2 separate regions of the Homo sapiens genome follow, and region 2 is linked to region 1. Evidence: promoter capture Hi-C in human tissues and cell types (Jung and others, 2019). All regions are on one chromosome and are shown on one strand. The core of a region is centred on a gene start or on the middle of the fragment in contact, and the rest is flanking DNA. Distances in the headings are between cores, read along the strand shown.

What was found. The method cuts DNA at HindIII sites, captures the fragments that hold promoters and counts their contacts. A contact is called where the count stands out against the background at its distance.
Region 2: a contact is called between a fragment that was not itself captured here and the fragment with the promoter of SPACA7 in region 1, in 3 of the 25 tissues and cell types used here (dorsolateral prefrontal cortex, pancreas and spleen).

The regions. Positions count from the first base shown.
Region 1 is chr13:112,370,887-112,378,191 of GRCh38, reverse strand. SPACA7 (sperm acrosome associated 7) reads right to left here and starts at 1,837. Exons shown (of 7, transcript NM_145248.5): 1 at 1,713-1,837. The coding sequence starts at 1,806. It overlaps LOC105370373 (a long non-coding RNA gene), which reads left to right and starts at 1,914. Exons shown (of 3, transcript XR_944295.3): 1 at 1,914-2,068; 2 at 5,779-5,858. RefSeq lists an enhancer at 1-385. The HindIII fragment of the contact is 14,702 bases long and covers 1-7,305 here.
Region 2 is chr13:112,323,679-112,330,687 of GRCh38, reverse strand. It overlaps LINC01044 (long intergenic non-protein coding RNA 1044), which reads left to right. Exons shown (of 3, transcript NR_126345.1): 2 at 3,143-3,442. Among named protein-coding and RNA genes, the nearest start is that of LINC01044, 4.0 kb to the left of the region's middle. The HindIII fragment of the contact is 5,698 bases long and covers 2,082-7,009 here.

The sequences.
Region 1 (7,305 bases), core at 588-3,087:
GCTAACATTTCCAGTCTTTCTTCTGCCCTCCTGACTGGGTGTTAGTGAGAACTAAAGCCTGACAACTCAGGCCTTCCGTGGGACCATCTGGAAAGGCTGAAGCTGGACACATCCACGCTCTGCCCCCAGCATAACCATGACTGTGGCTCTGATGGTCATGATGTCACCAAGGACACACCCCCTGCAAACTAGGAAATCCATCCTTGCCCCATCGGCTGAAGATACCTTGAGCCCAAAATCCAGAAATCTTCTCAACAGACTGCCCTCTGGATTCGGAAACTGTGTTTCCAACTATAAATCTTTGTTTTTCTTCTCTTTTTCGTAGACATTCCCCTCATTAAATTCCCGACTACTTGTACCATCCAGCACACATCCTCCACCAGATGAAACATGGACTTATCTTGTTCAAAGAGAAAAGGAATGTCTCTTCTTTCTTGAACAAGAGGAGGGAATGAGAAAGCCTCGCTCCTTGACTTACCTCATGCCAGGCTCCTCTGAGTCTTCTCTTTGACTAGGCCTTGACCCTAGCTTCTGCTTTTGTCTGCTTTTCCCCATGTTTAGTAGGAATCCTGTGAAGTCTTTTAGTGGAAATCCCCTAGTCTTGGCCTGGTCACCCTTGATATCTGATCAAATTCCTCACCCTCCATCTTTGATTATTTTATTGCCTTGGCTTCCTTTCAGGTCTGGCCTCCTGTTTGGCCGAACACAATATACACAATAATTGAACTAGAGGGTGAATACATGGAGGTTCATGATATTCTTCCAAGTTAGAAATTTTCCATAATAAAAAGTTAAAATAAGTAACATATGCAACTCTCTCATGGATGTCTAGATTTTAAAAGGTCTTCAAAGATAGCAGACCTTTGTGTCCTGTTGCAAGGATAATCAATTTTTATTAAACTTATGCAAACAATTGTATGGTCCTGAAAATCATAATATCCAAATTCTAGAGTAATCAGGTGGGACAAAAAATATAAATGCTTCATTTTTGTTTATAAAAGCCCTCTTGGCCTTTGCTGAATCAGTTTAGCAAAGAATTCTCCTACCTTTTAGCAATGTTCATCCACTGACCCACCCTGATCCTTGGCTGCAAATCTCCACTTTCCCTGTATTTGGAGTTGAGCCCACTCTCCACTATTATGAGACACCATGGTAGTAGCCCCCTTTGAATAAAGGCTGCCTGCCCATCTTTAGCAAGCATCACAAATATTTTTTAACGGTATGAGCTGAGATAAAGGCTTTTGGTAATTATGTTAGTCTGATTATGACATTGTAGATAATGCTTTTATCTCTTCGCAAGAAAATGTTTTACATGAGGTGGTAAGGCATCTGGGATGGTGCTAAAATACTCCCCAAACAAGAAAAGTGTGTGTATGTGGTGTGGAGTGTGTATGTGTGTGTGTGTAGAAAAAAACAAAATATGCACAATAATTGAACCTGAGGGTGAATACACGAAGGTTCATGATATTCTTCCCAGTTAGAAATTTTCCATAATAAAAAGTTAAAATAAGTAACATTTGCAACTTTCCTATGGACATCTAGATTTTAAAAAGTCTTCAAAGATAGAAAGACTTTTCAGCTACATTCATTCCCCAAGGAATAAATGGTAAATTCATGTAGGTTGGGAATAAGAGGAACCCATGGGAGAAGAGGCCGCCGCTCCCCACCTGGTTCAGTTCTCTTTCTGCTGAGACATCCCTGTGGGGCCCTACCTGGAATCACGGTTCTCGGCCGGAGCTCAGTTTCTTGCCAACAGCACAGCAGGAGGACAAAGCAGAGGGTCCCGTCTCCTTGGCTCACTGCCATGCTCCCTCCAGCTGAGGGAGAAGGACGTTCTGAAGGTTGACAGTTTCCCATCCTTGGTCTCCAGGACACTGTGGAATGTCAGGACCTGTGACATCACAACCAGGAAGGGAGCTGGGGTCCTGCCCTGGTGGGGAGGTCATGTCCAGGGACCTGTGACATCAGGACCAGGAAGGGAGCTGGCATCTTGCCAGGGGCGGGGGGCAGGGTTTCTGTCCAGAGTCTGTGACTGGGAAGCAGGGAGGAGGCTCACTGGGGTCTTAAGGTAACAGAGATCCTCTCCACTCTTTCTTATTGCCTGTTCTGGTGACTTCCTCTGTCCTGAGCACCCTGAGGACTCAAGGGGTAGATACTAATCAGGACTTAAGGGCCAGTGGCCAAAAGCCAACAAAATCTGCTCCCATGGAAAGAGGCGTATTTGAAGGATGCTGGAGAGGTGGTTGAATTACAGAGCAAGTGCCAGAACCGACAGATCCAGAGGGTCTAATCACCTCTTAAAGGTCCCTTGAAGAACAGAGCCTTGAAGAACAGAGGCCCGTGGCCCCATGTCCCCTCCCACCCTCCCCCACCCTCAAAGTTCCAGGATCATGAAGAACAGGAGACAGATGACCCAGGTTTCAGCCTCCTTTCCCCCACACCTTCTTTCTCAGCATCAGCCCCAATCTTTCCCTGGCAGTGAGACTTTAATCACGAGAGGAGAACATGGCTGCATTTCCATGTTATCATCCTCCCAGCTCTATCTCCTAGACTTTCTAGAGCTTTCTCCATCCGTGCAGTGACAAAACCCCAAAGGAGTCACTCTGGTTGGCTCCCCTGGATCCTATCTCACCCCTGGACTGACTCCTACATCCAGGGCTCAGAGTGGGGCAGCTGGTCTAGACTCGGCCGGTGGTGGGGTCCCAGGTGAACAGCCCTCAGATCCCAGCTCCATGGTGGAGAGGGCTGGTGTGTTTGTCTGTTCCCACACTGCTATATAGAACTTCCCTGAGACTGGGTAATTTATAAAGAAAAGAGATTTAATTGACTCACAGTTCTGCATGGCTGGGGAGGCCTCAGGAAACTTACAATCATGACGGAAGGGGAAGCAGGCACCTTCTTCACAAGGCGGCAGGAGAGAGAGTACATGAAGGAGGAGCTGTTAAACACTTATAAAACCATCAGCTCTAGTGAGAACTCACTTATCATGAGAACAGCATGCAGGAATCCACTCCCATGATCAGATCGCCTCCCACCAAGTCCCTCCCTCAACACGTGGGATTATGAGGATTATAATTCAAGATGATGCTTGGGTGAGGACACAGAGCCAAACCATATCACTGGGGCCCTGGACGCACAAGACTAACAATGCCCCCGAGGTCTGGTCAGGACCCCAAGGATGGCTGACCCACCATGGGTCTCTGGCTCTTTAATTTTTATTGCTTGTATGGGAACCCACAGCACATTTTTGCTCAGGTTTTCCTTTTGATAGATGCAGTGGTAGCCAATCTACCTCAAGGTGTGGGGAGTATATTTCAGATTTTCAGCGTGTCCATAAAGGCACACTAAGCATGGTTGACATTTACAGAAACCCAGTGGGTTCCAAGTCCCACTCTGAGTTAATGAATGGTCCAAGTGAGATGCTTGCTTCTATAACCCAGGCTCTTGCTACTCAGAATGTCATTTTGGGGCCAGCAGCATGGGCCTAAGAGGCTGAATGTACAAACGGACAGCAGCCAGAGCTCCCATGACAGCAGAACCCTGCACTGCTGCCTGTCGAACGACACCCACTGCACCAAGGAGGGATGTCTGGCTAAGGCAGGCCAGGGACTTCCACCTCAAGGCGGAGGATGAGGAATTTGATCAGGGCTGGGGGCGAGGCCTCGTTGAGAAGAGGGGTCAGAGGAGCCTCGCTGATTTGGTCGAGGAAGGAGTCATTCTCAAGGCTGCCCGAAGCTCGGTGACTTGATACAGCCCATGTGTGATTGCTTACAACTTTGTGGGTTGGCTCTGGGGGCTGCTGGCCTAGTGTGGCCTCATGGACATGTCTGAGGCCTTAGCTAGGATGCTGGGGCTTGGGATGGCTGAGGCTTCCCTCCATGTGGTCTCTCGGCCTCTAGCAGGCAGCCTGGGCTTGGTCACAGCAGAAAGGAGAGTAAGCCTCGATGCAAACAAGCCTTTTCTTGCACCACATTTGCTAATGTCTCATCGGCCAAATGAGTCAAACTAATCCCAGATGCAGGAGTGGAGGAACAGATTTGAGCACTAAAATATGGTAGTCAGAGGCCGGGCGCGGTAGCTCACGCCTGTAATCCCAGCACTTTGGGAGGCCGAGGTGGGCGGATCACGAGGTCAGGAGATCAAGACCATCCTGGCTAACACGGTGAAACCCCGTCTCTACTAAAAATACAAAAAAATTAACTGGGTGGGCACCTGTAGTCCCAGCTACTCGGGAGGCTGAGGCAGGAGAATGGCATGAACCTGGGAGGCGGAGCTTGCAGTGAGCGGAGATCGCGCCACTGCACTCCAGCCTGGGTGACAGAGCAAGACTCTGTCTAAAAAATATATATGGTAGTCAGACTGGCTTAGTTCACAGAGCTCTGCCCCCCGCGTTTCATAGATTTGCTTAGCTAATTGGAAAGAAGAGGTTAGAGTGTCTGGTATGTGTTTTTAATCAGTTGCTTTATGAGATTCTAGTTTGAAGAATCTCTCACCAACCCTTGGGAGGTTGATGGCAAATTTATTTTTCTTATTCTTTGCTGTCTTTTAGCAACAATTTTACACATAATTCCCTTTGCATTTGTATTTGCATGCAACATTAAAACCAGAAGGGAATTTAACAAATTAATCTATTTATACCAGTTTCTTTGAATGGGGACTTTAATTCATTTGCATAACTGTCATAGCAGCAGCATATGACTCCTAGAAGTTTTTTCTCCATGGTTGCATTTCAGTTGAGAGATTGTTTCTGTCATATACCAATAGAGATTTGTTTCCTGCATCTTCCAGGGGAAAGAGGAAAGAACTCTTTATGGCTCTTTTAAAATAAACAGGCTTTCCTTATTTTTTTAATTTTTGGAAATGTAAAAATTTTAAAAATTAAAAGAAAAATGCAAGGCTAGGTCCAGTGGCTCACACCTGTTATCCCAGCACTTTGTGAGGCTGAGGTGGGTGGATCGCTTGAGCCTAGGAGTTTGAAACCAGCCTGGGCAACAGAGCAAAACGTCATCTCTACAAAGAATACAAAAATTAGCCAGGCATGGTGGTAAATGTCTGCAGTCCCATCTACTTGGAAGGCTAAGGTAGGAGCATCACCTGACCTTGGGGAGGCAGAGGCTGTAGTGAGCCGTGATTGTGTCACTGCATTCTAGACTGGGTAGCAGATCGAGACTCCATCTCAAAAAAAAAAAAAAAAAAAAAAACTGGGTGCGGTGGCTCACACCTGTAATCCCAGCACTTTAGGAGGCCGAGGCGGGTGGATCACCTGAGGTCAGGAGTTCGAGACCAGCCTGACCAATAAGGTGAAACCCTGTATCTACTAAAAATACGAAAATTAGCTGGGTGTGGTGGCATGCACCTGTAGTCTCAGCTACTTAGAAGGCCGAGGTAGGAGGATCACCTGACCTTGGGGAGACAGAGACTGTAGTGAGCTGTGATTATGCCACTGCACTCTAGCCCGGGCAACAGAGTGAGACCCCATCTCACAAAAACAAAACAAAACAAAACAAGAAAAATGCAAACATACTTAGTTCCATTGTACAAAATTAACACTGTTAGCATCTTAGAATATTTGCCTTTGATGTTTTTAATTTTTGAAAAATCATGGTTTTGTTTTTATAAATACGCTAATAATACATACTCACTATAGAGAACTTAAGCAATGAAACGACAAAAACGTGAAAATTAAAAAATGACCCCAGTTGTCCCGCAGCCACGACCACCATGAATATCAGGTTAACATCGTGGCAGACACCTCTTCATCTATGTTTACGTGCACAGGCTGGTGGGCGCGTGGAGAGATAGACATGGTGTGAGGAGCTCTTCTGTGGACGCAAACACCTGTGGGGTAATAACATAAGGTAATAAAGGTGGGAACACACCACCTCACTCCTGCAACAAAAGTAATTCTTCAAATTTACTCAGATTTAATGGAGGGAAAAAAACCTGAAGAACAACTGAAGGAATTGATGAACGTCCAGTATTTCCTCTCTCTCAGTCATTGCTCACAGGAGAGGAGGGGAGACTCTGGGGAAAAACTTAGGTATTTGGAGTCAATGCATTTTTTTTTTAAACGTGCAAGTTTCACTTTTCCACAGGAACAGCCGACTTCCTGATCTGAAATACGAGGACGGCTTCACTCTCCCTTCCTCTCACTTCCTTTCTTTTGATTCAATGTTAATTGGCCATGAACTTCTTATTTCCCCTAAGAAGAGCTCAGAGATGTTCTATCCCAGGACATCTTCAGACCTGAGAACTTAGGTTGTTGGCTTTAGAATCTAACAGTGACTTGTGGGGGAACAAGATTCACGGGCCAGCCCTCCTTCCCTAAGAGTTGTTACAGTTTCCCCGTTGCAGATCCTGAGTGCTGTGTGGAGCGCTCTGTGGACCACCTGACATGGACCCCCTCTTGCAGATGATCTGCTCTGGCTGTGTGAAGACCCGAGTTATTCTTTCTTTATCTTGAAATTAAGCAGCAGAATTAGGATTTGCCTTGGCATTTCTGTTCTCTGTTAAACTTCCCAGGAAGAAGATATGTCCTTTTGATCTGCAGACCCAATCTTTATTCACTTCAGGCACTTTTTAATCTCATGTCTTTGAATATGTCATCAATCCATCTCTCTGGTTCTCTACCCCCAGGCACCTGTTTCCTTACGCTGGACCTTCTCCATCTGTCTTCCTTAACCATTAGCTTTTCCTTAATTGCTGTAACCCTCTTGTCGTCAAAAAAATCTGTATTCACTGTGTTTTTATCTGTGGTAATAATTTCTAGAGGTATTTATTTTGTTTCTTACTGTTTCTGTCATTATATCATTGCTGTTTATAACATTTTAGGTCCTCAATGTGTTTCAATAGCTTCATTTTCATCCAATTCTATTTTGTGTGTGTAAAATCTCACCTTTGAGCTTTTCTATAGTTTGCCGGTTATTCCATAGCTTTCTGCCTTTAGAGTTGTTTTTTTTTGTGTTGTTATTTTGGTGTGTCTTTTGCTTGGTGTTCTTTTATTTTATAGAGATCTGTTTTAGTATGTTTGCAGAATTGCCATGTATTTCTTCTCCTTTCGCTTGTGTTTGGAAAGTTCTCCCATAAGTTCTAGTTGCTCTGAAAAGTGGTGAGCAACTACTTGTCTGTCCTCCAACTTTTTAAGGCCCAGTTTCTTTCCTCCTCATTCTCCTGTACACCCTGCTCTAAGCAAGAGTTTGAGGGCTGAGTTTGGTGGTGCTGGGATGAGTGGTGGAAGAAGGAACAAGTATGTGTGCGGAGCGGGACAATCTCTGCAGGAATAGCTGGGCCTGTCTTTCCTCTGCT
Region 2 (7,009 bases), core at 3,681-6,180, 51 kb after region 1:
AGGCGGGGCTGTGAGCGCCTCGCCCGTGACCTTCGGTTTCTTGGCCCTGTTGTTAGAGGCTTTAATTAGAAGTCTCTTCTTTCCATGACACATTTCTAATGCTCTTTGCCCACAACACAGACACTCGCTCTGAGCGCCAATAGGAACAATTCGTTCATGACGGGAGAACCGAGTGCTCCATTCTGAGTTCCCGCAGAGGGTTCTGTGCGTTTCCAGAAAGAGCAGATGGGGGCGCGGGCGTGTGTTTGAAGGAGCTTCGAAGAGGGTGGCCCCGTGGGGTGGGGTGGGGGGATGGGGCCTCGTGGCATGTGGAGGGTGGGGTGGGGGGATGGGGCCTCGTGGCATGTGGACAGTGACCCCAGGAAGCTTCCAGCCAAGAGGCGTCACTCACATGGAGCCGAGTGTGACTGAGGGTGAGCGGGTGGTGGGAGGCTACGTCCCGGGGGCGGCAGGCAGAGGGTGAGGTCCTCGGCCATGGGTGAGACTGAAGAGGGCCGCAGGATGCGCTGTCAGGGGCTGCTCCGGTAAGTATGCAAACATGGGGCATGTAACATGCATCCCTGACGGCTTTCCTTTGTGATTTAAAAAGCATGTTTTGGCCCGGTGCAGTGGCTCATGTCTATAATCTCAGCACTTTGGGAGGCTGAGGTGGGCGGATCACCTGTGGCCAGGAGTTCGAGACCAGCCTGGCCAACATGGCAAAACCCCATCTCTACTAAACATACAAAAATTAGCCGGGCGTGGTGGTGCGCGCCTATAATCCCAGCTACATGGGAGGCTGAGGCAGGAGAATCACTTGAACCCAGGAGGCAGAGGCTGCAGTGAGCTGAGATTGTGCCACTGCACTCCAGCCTGGGCAACACAGTGAGACTCCATCTCCAAACAACAACAACAAAACTAAAAAAATTATTGTATACATGTTTACAATAATACCTTCTCCCCACACCTGATTCACCTGTAGTCGTTTTCTGGTGCCCCTCATACCTCTGGGGAGCACCGGCCACCATGCCCCAGGTGGCAGTGTACGTGCCCTGCCCCTGGCCCGTCATCCCCTGATGGTCTCCTGAGTGGGAGCATGGAGCTGGGGGAGTGTGCCCAGGAGACTCTGAGCCCCGGCAGAACAAAGCGAGCTCTGCCTTCAGCCCTTTGGCCTGAGACTCTGTGCCTGAGAGTGGGAGCAGGACCCTCTGCACCCAGGGCAGCTGAGGGCAGCTCCTGGGGTTCATCAGCTTTGTTGAGTGACTACAGGCAAGTCCATAGAGAACATTCCTTCCTTCTTGTTTTGCTTTCACCCCATAATCTTTAAAACCAGTCTGCAAAAACATCAAAACACCTGGCTCAGAACTCAGGACTCGGGAACTCCTGCCAGGCTTTTTGGTGGAGGCTGCAGGCAGAGGATGGGATCCACTTGGAGGAGGCAGGCAAATCAGATGTGCAGGGTGGTCACTATCATAGTTTTCCAGGAAGGTCATGCTCCTGTGTGGAGCAGGGTGGACAGAAGGACCCAGGGGCTGGTGTAGGGCAAGTCGCTGATGCCCTTAGTTAATGGGGCCCTGAAGCAGAGTAAGTCCCAGCAGGATGGCCCGGCCAGGTCCCTGTGAGGTCCCCGGCGAATGGAGGTGAGGCCAGGGGCTGAGAAAGGACTCCATCTGCAGATGAAACCACAGAAAGTCCTGCTTCTCAACTTGGGGGTTTGGCTTGGGCAACGCCCTTGGTGAGACAAATCCAGAGCAAGGATGGTGAAGAACGCCCATTAGTCAGTGGCCTTCCTTTGTCTCTTAGCTTTTCCCTTGCGATATGGTTTGGCTCTGTGTCCCCACCCAAATCTCATCTTGACCTGTAATCCCTATGTGTCCAGGGAGGGAGGTGATTGGATCGCACAGGCAGTTCCCCCATGCTGTTCTCATCATAGTGAGTTCTCATGAGAGCTGATGGTTTTATAAGTGTCTGGAAGTTCCTCCTTTGCGCTTCTCTCTCCTGCCACCTTGTGAAGAAGGTGCTTTCTTACCCTTTGCCTTCCACTGTCATTGTAAGTTTCCTGAGGCCTCCCCACCCATGAGGAACTGTGAGTCAATTAAACCTCTTTCCTTTATAAAGTACCCAGTCTTGGGTATTTCTTCATAGCAGTGTGAAAACAGACTAATACACCTTGGAAATAATCTCATGCTTACAAAAGAGTTGCAAAAATAGCAAAACTAGTATAAAGTGTCTGCCCTACCCTCCACCCAGCTTCCCTGAAGGCTGCGGTTACGTAATTCATTGTGTTAAACTTACAGTCACATAGCAGATGACACTATTACCAGCCGGTCTACAGGCCTTGTGTGAATGCTACCAATTTCCCTGTGATTGCCTCTTTTCTGGTCCCAGACCCATTTCAGGGCCCAGGTTGCTTCTAGCTGCTGTGTCATTTGTCGCTGCCCAGCTGGGGGAGTTCTTCCTCCCTGTAGATTCCTCTTCAATGACCATGGCAGCTCTGGAGAGCTGATTTTATAGGATGCCCCTCTGTTTGGGTTCGTCTGATGTTTCTTCATGAATAAATTAAAATTATGCATTTTTGGCCAGAATGCCAAATGTCCTTCTGGGGCCTCCCGGCAGGCACGTGACGTCCCCCAGCCTCACTCCTGGTGGTGCAACTTTGACCACACAGGTAGGTGGCATCTGCCGGGCATCTCCCCTGTCAGCTTGGGATTTTCCCCTTTGCCATGATTTGGTGTCTTATGAAAAGGTATCTGGGGACTACGGAAATAGCCAGTTTCTCATACTTTTGCCTGCCGATCTCAGCTCCCTTGAGAACACTGCCTTCTACGCTTCTTCCCGTGCTGCTTGCCAAATGGTGGTGCTCCTGCTTTTCCCGTTTCTTCTTTCCTTCCACACTGAGTAACTGGGAGTCTCCTGTGAGAAAGGGCTGTCTCTCCCCACCCTATGTACTTATTTGATTACCTATTTTTATCAGCTTAAGCTCATGGATATTTATTCTATTCTATGGAATAGAATTTATTATTATTACTATTATTGTTCTTAGTTTAAAATTTCCAGCCCTGGCCACTGGGTGCTCCTTCAGTAGAAGAGCCCTACTAAAGCCACGTGCTGTGGAAGTGTGCTTTTCTAAACTTTCATTTTTTTTTTCTTTTCTTTGAGACAGAGTCTCACTCTGATCTTGGCTCACTGCAACCTCTGCCTCCTGAGTTCAACTGATTCTCCTGCCTCAGCCTCACCAGTAGCTGGGATTACAGATGCCCATCACCATGCCCGGCTAATTTTGTATTTTTAATAGAGACAGGGTTTTGCCATGTTGGCCAGGCTGGTCTCGAACTCCTGACCTCAAGCGATCCACCTGCCTCGGCCTCTGGGATTACAGATGTGAGCCATCGCACCTGTGCGTGAAGGTTTTCTAACCTTCTATCAGATTTTCTAACCTCCCCAAGCCACAGGATGAGAAAAGGTGAGTGACACTCTCAGGGACACAGGGCGGGGCAGAGGGCAGGGGCTGGCTGTGCGGCTGGCTCCTGGGGGATCACACAGCAGTGGGAGGGCCTGGTGCTGTCTATGGCTGCGGCTGCTGTCTGTACAGTGAACTGGTGAGAACCATGCAGATGTGGGGGACACGCCCCTGAGCACAGTCAGTGCTCTGCCCAAATCCAGATTTCTTTTCATCAGTGTTCTAAGGAAAGGATGCTGAACGTAGCGATGCTATTCAGGGACCTGTGGTGCCAGGCGAAGCTCAGTGCTGCACGCGAGCTTCCAGTCAGTCCTCAAAGCCACCTCAGAGCCAGGGCCCAGGCTATGGGCACGAAGCTTCATCAAGGAGGGTATCAGGGTGTCCGGCTGCTATGGAATATGACGGGGGTGCTCTCGCATGTGCTTGCACATGCTCTGTATGCATTTCTGTGCCCTCGTATACTCCCGTGTGCCCTTCTGTGCTTGTGTGTGCTCTCCTTTGCACTCGTGTGTGCTCGTGTGTGCTGGTGGGGTGAGTGTGATGCTCTAGGGAGGCCGTTCCCTCCGGGCGGCTGCCTTATCTATCTGCCCTGCCTCCCCAGGCCCCGCTGACTCCAGGCCTCCAGGAGATGGGGATTGAGCACCTGCCCTCTGTGTGCCCGGCCGTGGGTGTCCTGGGCTGAGCAGGAGGCACTGGCCCCACGTAGCCCTCACAGGGCAAAGCTGCTGCTCCCAGGGCAGAGGACATGTCTTCTCCCTGCCTGCTGCCTGGGGCTACTTTGTCCCTCACCTTGCTCAGGCCAAGACCCGACGCCCTGAACTGTGGTCACTGATGGGTGCCAGGTGGATCTCCGGGCACCGTGAGCCGGGCTGAGCTTGTTTTCCACGAGCCCATCGCTGTGGGTGTCGTGCACGTGCTGGGGCTGGCTCTTGTCAGGGAACACTGTGATGACTCACACGCCTAAAAATAGCGTCTTGATGTCCTGAAATCATACAACAGAAACATTTCTAACCTCCTCCAAATTCCATGGGTGACTGGGACTTTTGGCTGTGGTCTGCTCCTGAGCACTGTCAGAGGCTGCGATGGGCTACCGGGTCCCTCTTCGGTCCGGCTCGTGGGGAGGTGCCGGTGGGCGGTGCAGGGAACGAGGCTGGGGTCTGCACGCGTGTGCTGTTTCTCGGCCTGAGAGTGAGCTATGCATGCTGAAGGCCTGGTGGGTGGGCAGCCAGGAAAATGCTTTGTGTTTTGGGGTCTGTTCTTCACTCATTGTAGGAGACTCTGTGTAGTTTAAGCTCTAGAGAGAGTGATCTCTGGAAGCCAAAATAGACATAAAGTTTACATTCAAATGCCGTGTATCTCAGTGCATTCAGAAATGCGCTTAAATGCTGGAAAGCACTGCTTTCCCCGTGGATGACTGAGGTTTCTTCTATTTCGTTATAACGTTGTTTCTGGAAAAGAGATCATCAAGATGCAGAGGCCGTGGCTGCGACGGAGGAAGGAAGTGGGGGAGCCACGGCAGGAGAGAGGAGAGAGAGAGGGAGCTCGGAGGAGGGGGCTGCCTCGCGGTGTTCAGGACACCTGTGCCCCGGTTACCTGTCTGTGTCCCCGTGAAGAGTTGTTACTGCTCATCGGTTGCTTCCGCCCTGCAGGAATCATGGTCCTTTCGTGTGGCGAGGTCACCAAGCAGCGTCACCACCCCAGACGACAGCAGGTCACCCTCCCTGGCTGCCGCGTGGCAGGGCGGGTTCAGGGACGGACTCTGCGCTTCACTCTGATTTTTGTCATTTTTGTGGGTTGAAGTTAGACCCCCTATTCTGTTGTTTGAACACAGATCTGGGCCACTTTACTGATATTAGTTACCTGCTGTGCCTCTTAGCACCTCCCGACTTCCTTGCTGTACTCTGAAAATGCAGGTTTTGTGCACCTGAATTATAATCTTGCTGTGATAATGCGCCTGTATTGATTCAACAAAATGAGTTGTCTATTTTGTTTTCACTTCGACATCTCTAAGAAGGAAAGACTGACAATCGGGAACATAAATATTTTGGACTTCACATCTTGTGGCATGAAGATGATAAAAAAAAGTGTAATAATTACGAGGTAAAATTTTACCAGGAAATGCAGTTCTGTTTGAACTGGAGGATGAACTCACAGAAAGCACTTATTCTAGAGCAGTGTTAAAATGCTTCAATTGCCCAAGCATCTAAAAGGCAGAAAATTGATAGCATTCCATTAAAGGTGCAACAAACCAAATCTAAATATGTAGAAACTGCTGCCTGGGTCAGGATTGATTTTAGGCTTTATAAAAAATATATAAAGGGTTTTATTTCTACAGTGCTTTATGCTAGACATTGTCTTTGGGCTCTAAGGGGTTTCTCTGATTTACCAAGCACGATTATAAATAATATCTTCAAAGGATTGCGGAATATTCTAACCCTACATTTTTTTTTAACATGAGTTTGATGTTTTCTCGTAGGTTCGGGTTCATTTAAATAGATTGGTTTGAGTTGGATTTCAGTGCTTAATTATAATTATTGTACGTAACTGAACATTTCAATATAATGAACCAATTGATCAGGCTTATATTCATATTTGAAGAAAACTGGTATTTTTGAAAACAAACAGGAAGATAATTTTCTTTAGAATTATGACTAATATGACTAAGTTTCCTGACTGTCCCCATCTCTCTCTCTGAGGCCCGTTACTGGTTTGGAAGATGCTTTAGAATCACAGGTTTTTGTTATTCCCTAGACTGACTGGGGCTAGAAAGGGGTGGGGGCGGCGGGGGATGATGCGGGGCTGTTCAGTTTCCACGCATCCCTCCCGGTATAAATGAAGCTTCCTCAGCAGATGGTCCTCGCCCCCCACCTGTGGCTGTCGTAACAAAGTGCCACACGCCAGGTGGCATATGACAGCACGAGTTTCTTACCTCCAGCTCTGCAGGAGGCTGGAAGCCTGAGACCCTGCCCCTCTGAGCCCCGCAGGGAGGAGCCTTTCGCCGCCTCTTCCAGCTCCTTGCCGCTCCTGGCTCGTAAACCCATCACTCCTGTCTCTGGCCCTGCTGCTGCATGGCTGTCTTCCCTCTGCGCATGTCTGTGTCCATGTTTTCCCATTTAATAAAGACATCGGCCATTGAATTAGGGCCCCCCCTACTCAGTGTGACCTCATCTTAACCAGTTATATCTGCAAGGACCCCGTTTCCATATAAAGCCCCAGGTGCCATGGGTTAAGACTCGAACACATCTTTTTGGGGGACATGATTCAACCCACGACAGCAGCCGTGGGTCTCAGGAAGATGGGTCAAGCGATGAACACACACCCAGCCAGAGCTTCAGTCACTCACTCTGCATCCGTGGAGAGGCCTCTCCATGCTTCGGGGCCTCAATGTCCTCATCTGTAGAGTGGGGAGATTGGGTTAGATCAGCCTTCCCAAGGGGTTTTCCACAGAGCTGGAGCTCTGGGAGATCAAATAGGCATCTTTCAAAATAAAGCCTTGGGCACGAGTGAGTTTGGGAACTGTGTTGGGCAAGACCACAGGTTTCATGATCTCAAGACTTCTCAGAGAAGTCA